Regions from separate parts of the Homo sapiens genome. Here region 2 is linked to region 1. The links are contacts of gene promoters, found by promoter capture Hi-C in blood cells and fetal thymus (Javierre and others, 2016). All regions are on one chromosome and are shown on one strand. The core of a region is centred on a gene start or on the middle of the fragment in contact, and the rest is flanking DNA. Distances in the headings are between cores, read along the strand shown. Region 1 holds the start of CARD8 (caspase recruitment domain family member 8). Region 2 has its middle 7.4 kb from the start of SNAR-C1.

Region 1 (3,715 bases), core at 790-3,289:
AGTTAAAATATTGGAAGCTTATTCCAAAATATTGGAATAAATTTGAAATACAGTGATTGAATGGAAGGACATTAAATTATAACTCATTAGACATGTTATTTTACTCTATAGACAAACACAACAAATCACCTGAAATAAGCTATAAAAGATAAACCAGTAAGTTAGAGAAATAATCTTTTTTTTTTTTTGAGATGGAGTCTCCCTCTGTTGCTTAGGCCAGAGTGCAGTGGCGCAGTCTTGGCTCACTGCAACCTCTGCTTCCTGAGTTCTAGTGAGTCTCCTCCTCAGCCTCCCAAGTAGCTGGGATTACAGGCATGTGCCACCATGCCTGGCTAATTTTTTTTGTATTTTTAGTAGAGATGGGGTTTCACCATGTTGGACATGCTGGTCTTGAACTCCTGACCTCAGGTGATCTGCCTGCCTCAGGTTCCCAAGTGCTGGGATTATAGGCTTGAGCCATTGCGCCTGGCCAGAAGAATCTTAATGTACAAAAATGAATAGGTTTTTAATACAACAGACTATCCCAATTCCTTGAAAGAAGAAAATACACCCATTAAAACAGAAACTATGGTGCCTAGAATTAAACTGCACAAAAAACTACATGACCCATATAATTTTTTTATGTTGAAATAATTTTAAACATGCAAAATTAGCAAAGATTCATATAAATCCTCAACCAGCCTATCCTGATGTTAGCTATATATATAATTGTATTATATGTATAATAGTTGTTATATATAAAACTGTATATATACATTTATTGTATTATAATCATATATATACATTTATTGTATTATATATAATATACAACTGTATATGTAATTGTAATATAATAATTATATACATAATAGTATATGTAATACAAGTATCCAACCAGGAAATTGATGTCAACGTATCTTACCATTACCTAATGTGCAGACCTTATTTGAATTTTGTCAATATTTCTCTTAACGTCCTCTTTCTTCTCCAAGATCGAATCGAGGATCTCACATTGCACTCAGTTGTTATGTCCTTAGATTCCTCCAGGCTGTGACCGTTTCTTATTCTTCCCTTGTCTTTTGTGATTGTGACACTTTTGCTGAGCATGGCCAATTATTTTACAGAATGTTTATCAATTTGGATTTCTTTGATGTTTTCTCACGATTAGGCTGAGGTCATGCATGTTTGTCTTCTGTGTTCAGTCAATATGCCCCATCCTTTTTCAAATATTTCTTCATGTTCTGGCGTCAGAATTTGTTCCAATGTTATCTTATATATTCCTGCCCCAGCCCTCGAAGTAACCATTTCTCCACAGATACTTCAAAATAGTATTTAGAAACCAAGGCCGGGCACAGTGGCTCACGCCTGTAATCCCAGCACTTTGGGAGGCCGAGGCGGGCTGATCTCGAGGTCAAGAGACGGAGACCATCCTGACCAACATGGTGAAACTCCGTCTTTACTAAAAATACAAAAAATTAGCCGAGCGTGGTGGCATGCACCTATAATTCCAGCTACTCGGGAGGCTGAGGCAAGAGAATCGCTTGAACCTGGGAGGCAGAGGTTGCAGTGAGCCGAGATTGCTCCATTACACTCCAGCCTGGGTGACAGACGGAGACTTCATCTCAAAAAAAAAAAAAAGTAATATTGATTAAAAATCAAATTGCATGAGAATGCATAGCAGGATACCAAGCAAATACAACTTTTAAATATTACAGAAAATGATATTTAAAATACAAACCAAATACATAAATCATGCAGGCGGATTAAGACGTTTCTGGATAGTGGTAACAGCTGAGAGTGGCTGGATGAATTCCAGAGAAATTTCATATATTGCTTCAATTTTATTTAAAATATACTATTACCTATGTCTTAGATATTTTATTTTAAATAATGAACAAGGATATTATAAACTCTGCAGAAGTAAGTGTAATCGTGTTTTTTTCCTGCCCACATTAAAGATGGCCCAGATGCTTGCACTGACCCCATTGACTGCCCACAGCCATCATGGCGACCGGAAGTCCTGAGAGCTTACTTCCCTCAGTTCTCAGAAAGCCCACCTCCTCTGCGAGCGTTATTTCAAAAGAAGTTGAGAACCAGAGAAACCGACCTAAGGGGATTCTCCCATTTGGCCCGTCCTACCCTAAAGTCACCACCTGCTGCTTTTCTGGAGCGCTTACCAGGTGAGTTTCAGGAGCCCTAGTGTACAGGAAGGAGAAACGGAGGCTTGTTGGTAGGACACCGCCAGGCTGCTCTGTGTTCTGTTCCTCTTAGTCAGCAAGGAAGGAGTACGACAAAGTGAGAAGTTCATATGAGCGTGTCAGAAGGGGAAATAGGGCCCCTCCCTTGTTAAAAACAAAACCCTCTGGAAGCTCGGCATCCTGTCATAACTTAAATTTATGACTTCAGTGACTTGGCTTGGACAGTCTTAATAATCTCTCTCACACTCAATTTGTTTTAATTTCTGTAATAATAATTTTTATACCAATGTTTATGTTGTTAATACTAATAATTTTACACTGTAACTGTATAACTTTAATTATTAGAAGTGTTAACCTAACTAACAAACATATGAAAGCTTCCTAAGGGAAACAATTTTTTTTTCTTTTTGAGATGGAGTCTCGCTCTGTGGCTAGGCTGGAGTACAGTGGCATGATCTTGGCTCACTGCAACCTCTGCCTCCCAGGTTCAAGCGATTCTCGTGCCTCAGTCTCCCAAGTAGCTGGGACTACAGGCGTGCACCACCACATCCAGCTAATTTTTTATTTTTTAGTAGAGACGGGGTTTCACCATGTTGGCCAGGATGGTCTCCGTCTCTTGACCTCGAGATCAGCCCGCCTTGGCCTCCCAAAGTGTTGGGATTACAGGCGTGAGCCACTGCGCCCAGCCGGAAACAATGTTTATTTGGGAATAGAGCATTGCAATTGGGAATAGACATGCCGTATTAAACTATGTGTATATTCAGGGAGATAAAGGAAGACAGAAATGGGGAGGATTGCATATTGTTTTAACAGAATTTTCCTTGGCTACAAAGATCAGTAACAAGGGTGACATTAGTCCTAGGTTGGACCAGCAGTTGCTGGGCAGCATTCCTTGCAGAAATATATATTTTTTTAAGGTTGTGAAGACCTTTATGTAAGGTTGTGGGTTTTGTAGAGTCTTTTTCATCTTCAGGCATGCAAGGATAAGAGCCCTCTCTTCATGGCCTTCCTGGCTCTATTTGTCAGGGTTATCTTAACATAAGTGACTCCATTTTGTTCTGACAACTTTCAGATTTCCCCTTGTGATCAAGAAGTTTCTCTGAAAGCACTCTCCTGCCTCAGCCTCCCGAGTAGCTGCGACTACAGGTGCCCACCACCACACCCAGCTAATTGTTTTTGTGTTTTTAGTAGAGACGGGGTTTCACTATGTTGGCCAGGCTGGTCTCGAACCCCTGACTTGTGATCTGCCCACTTCGGCCTCCCAAAGTGCTGGGATTACAGGGATGAGCCACCGCACCAGGCCTGCATTTCTTTTTTCAAAGAATTACTGTGGCATTTTTTCCAATGTCATTGTGTTCTGTGGTTCTTATCTAGTCTTCACATTTATTTACATAATGAACTTTCAATGATGGATTTCTACAGAATTTTTGTCACTAAGTGGTTGCCTAGAAGTATATATCCTAAGATTGAACATATTGAAATATGAGCTAACTTTTCTCATTCAATTATTGATTACTTAGTTAGTTTATTTATTATTT
Region 2 (3,715 bases), core at 694-3,193, 290 kb after region 1:
TGTTCACGTGTTCATGAATGGCCAAGAAAACAGTGAGTATATGCCTGGGCACAGCAGCTAATGCCTGTAATCCCAGCACTTTGGGAAGCTGAGGCAGGTGGATCGCCTGAGGTCAGCAGTTCGAGACCAGCCTGGCCAACATGGCGAAACCCTGTCTCTACTAAAAATACAAAAATTAGCTGGGTGTGGTGGTGCCTGCCTGTAATCCCAGCTACTCAGGAGGCTGAGGCAGGAGAATCACTTGAACCCGGGAGGTGGAGGTTGCAGTGAGCTGAGATTGCACCACTGCACTCCAGCCTGGGAGACAGAGTGAAACTCCGTCTCAAAAATACATTAATTAATTAACTAATTTAAAAAAAAAAAAACCAGAGACTCCAGGGGTAAGAGGAGGCCAGAGAACGGGACCCTTGCTCAGCCTGCAGGATCAGGGATCACTTCTAGGAAGGGACAAGGGACAACAACCAGGCTGGGTCCCGATAGTTTAATGACAATTAGGCAGGTGCAGAGGTGAAGGGGGATGGCAATGTCCAGAGGCCCTGTGACCACACACACACACACACACAAACACACACACACACACACACACACACACACAAACGCCCACCCTCCACTCTTAAACCTATCCATGCTTATGTTAGAAAACACTTAGGGCCAGGCACGGTGGTCCAAGCCTGTAATCCCAACACTGGGAGGCCAAGGCGGGTGGATCACCTGAGGTCAGGAGTTTGAGACCAGCCCGGCCAGCATGGTGAAACCCCATCTCTACTAACAATACAAAAATTAGCCAGGTGTGGTGGCAGGCGCCTGTAATCCCAGCTACTCAGGAGGCTGAGGCAGGAGGATCGCTTGAATCCGGGAGGCTGAGGCTGCAGCGAGCCGAGATAGCAACACTGCACTCCAGCCTGGGCGACAGAGTGAGACTCCATCAAAAAAAGAAAGAAAAGAAAAGAAAAGAAAAGAAAAGAAAAGAAAAGAAAAGAAAAGAAAAGAAAAGAAAAGAAAGACACACACTTAGGCCAGCTCTTTTCAAATGGTGAGTCATAATCTTCCATTTATCAAAGCACAACCAGCATTGTTTAAATTAAAAATACTGCAAACGTGGATGGAAAAACACAGAGTGTTTCATGTGTATGGCATGAGTTATTTCTAAAAAGGTTTAGAGATTGTATAGATAGATAGGGATGCCTAAATAGAAAGATATAGATGATGGATAGATAGAAGTCAGCTCATATTTTAAAGTCTATTCTTTCTATAGATTATGGTTAAAAAAACGGAAACATTGTCTTTGTGAACCCATAAATCTCATCTTAATCTTTCACAAAGCATAGGAAATCTTTTGTAAAGAATATGGCTGACTTGCTTTTCCGCTCTAGGAATGCTAGCAGAAAGCCATGCTTTTTGAAGTGAGCTTCAGGGTTCCAGTGGAGACAGGCAGAGCCTGGTGTGATTGAGCCCAGGTGGTGGCAATTAATCCCTAAGAAGCAAAGTGATACCAGGCAACAGGGTATAATTACTAATCAGATCATAGAGAATGGCTGGTGCAAGAGCGACATCTGGTGGTGATAATCATAGGTTTTTTTCAGAAATGAATTCAACTGACAGTTCACTTAAAGACATTCATTGTGGCCAGGTGCAGTGCTTCATGCCTGTAATCCCAGCACTTTGGGAGGCCGAGGCGGGCAGATCACGAGGTCATGAGATCGAGACCATCCTGGCCAACATGGTGAAACCCCGTCTCTACTAAAATACAAAAAATTAGCCTGGCATGGTGGCACACACCTGTAGCCCCAGCAACTTGGGAGGCTGAGGCAGGGGAATTGCTTGAACCCGGGAGGGGGCGGTTTCAGTGAGCTGAGATTGCACCACTGCACTCCAGCCTGGTGACAGAGCAAGACTCTGTCTCAAAAAAAAAAAAAAAAAAAAGACGTTCATTGCACAGAAGATCCACAGTATAACAGCCAGACTGGAACCATCGCGCTAGAGTCATGGCTTTTCTCCCAGTTCCAGGCACAAGACAGTTCACCAACTCAATGCCCCTTGAGTGAAGGCAAGGCTGGGTAACCAGGCACTGCTATAAGGCCATAGGCAGACACAGTAAGAAAATGCAAAGGGACCAGGCACGGTGGCTCACGCCTGTAATCCCAGCACTTTGGGAGGCCGAGGGGGGTGGATCCCCTGAGGTCAGGAGTTCGAGACCAGCCTGGCCAACATGGTGAAACCCCATCTCTACTAAAAATACAAAAATTAGCTGAGCATGGTGGCGCATTCCTGTAATCCCAGCTACTCGGGAGGCTGAGGCAGGAGAATCGCTTGAGCCTGGGAGGCGGAGGTTGCAGTGAACTGAGATCGCGCCATTGCACTCCAGCGTGAGAGACTAGAGCGAAACTCTAGTCTCTCAGAAAAAAAAGAAAGAAAGAAAGAAAGAAAGAAAAAAGAAAGAAAGAAAGAAAAAAGAAAGAAAGAAAGAAAGAAAGAAAGAAAGAAAGAAAGAAAGAAAGAAAGAAATTACAAAGGTAAATACATAAACTTTCCAGAGCCTACTGAATACTGGTTTTGAGCAAAGATTAGTTTTCAAGGACTAGGAATACCACTGATATCCAGTGATTAGAGTGGAAGATTATAGGAACATGAGACAGAGTCCTGAGTTAGGTTCACTTCTCTGTTAGCTCAGTGTGATACCAAATACTTTCTGCAATGATTTCCGCAGGGCCCAGGAGTAATACAGTTTGAAAAAAATATTTTCAGAAAGGCGTATGACTCACATCGGTTCCCAGACCCTTGGGCCCAGCTATTAAGATAGGGAAAAGTCACATTGCACGTCATCGTAGTTAGCCTCCTACGAGAATGGAGCGCGTGAAGAAACATTATGTTCCTTGGGAATTTCAGAGCTTGGTGGCACCAACAAAGACATGAAAGACTGTTGTCAAACTCTATTCATTTATCTAAATGGGACAGTACAAAAAAAATGCTGAGGCTTAAGCAATTACCATGATTTATTTTTATGTCATTCAAGTCAACCGACTCCTTCTGTAGCTGCTCTTCTACATTGATCTTATTCCTGGAGACTCTGGACCTGGGTAAGCACCTACTTAGAGTGTGTAGTTACATGCCCCCATTCTAAATGCAGGAGAAGCTGATAAACACAGTGTAGCCAAGCAGCCATGTCATCAGCTTTCATTGTGTTACAATGATGATGAAGCGGAGAATGGGCTTCTGTAAACTCTCCTTCATGGCTCCTAGAACATAATCCACTTCCTGGCACTGGAAGAGCATCTTGCAGTGGGGTCATTCTACAGAACTGACTTCCTCCATGAGACCTTTTTTTTTTTTTTTTGAGTCGGAGTCTTGCTCTGTCACCCAAGCTGGAGTGCGGTGGTGCAATCTCGGCTCACTGCAACCTCTGCCTCCCGGATTCAAGTGATTCCCCTGCCTCAGACTCCCAAGTACCTGGGATTACAGGCCCCCACCACCACATCCAGCTAATTTTTGTATTCTTAACAGAGACGGGGTTTCACCATGTTGGCCAGGCTGGTCTCGAACTCCTGACCTCAACTCATCCACCTGCCTTGGCCTCCCAAAGTGCTGGGGTTATAGGTGTGAGTCACTGCATCCGGCTGCATGAGACATTTAATACTTACCCGTCTTTAACACACTCATGCAAAATTTGTGCAGGATATTGCTACATGCTCAAAAGCTCTCAGTGATTCAAAGAACA

What was found. Contacts are between HindIII fragments. The CHiCAGO score rates a contact against its expected background, and 5 or more counts as called.
Region 2: a fragment that was not itself captured here is called in contact with the fragment with the promoter of CARD8 in region 1 in 10 of 17 cell types (naive B cells, total B cells, M2 macrophages and 7 more); the score reaches 10.1 in naive B cells.

What each region holds. Positions count from the first base shown.
Region 1 is chr19:48,254,236-48,257,950 of GRCh38, reverse strand. It overlaps CARD8 (caspase recruitment domain family member 8), which reads left to right and starts at 2,039. Exons shown (of 14, transcript NM_001184900.3): 1 at 2,039-2,159. CARD8-AS1 (CARD8 antisense RNA 1) reads right to left here and starts at 2,276. Exons shown (of 2, transcript NR_040599.1): 1 at 2,157-2,276; 2 at 1-1,600. RefSeq lists an enhancer at 1,931-2,170. The HindIII fragment of the contact is 2,537 bases long and covers 20-2,556 here.
Region 2 is chr19:47,961,181-47,964,895 of GRCh38, reverse strand. No RefSeq gene overlaps it. Among named protein-coding and RNA genes, the nearest start is that of SNAR-C1, 7.4 kb to the right of the region's middle. The HindIII fragment of the contact is 5,095 bases long and covers 1-3,715 here.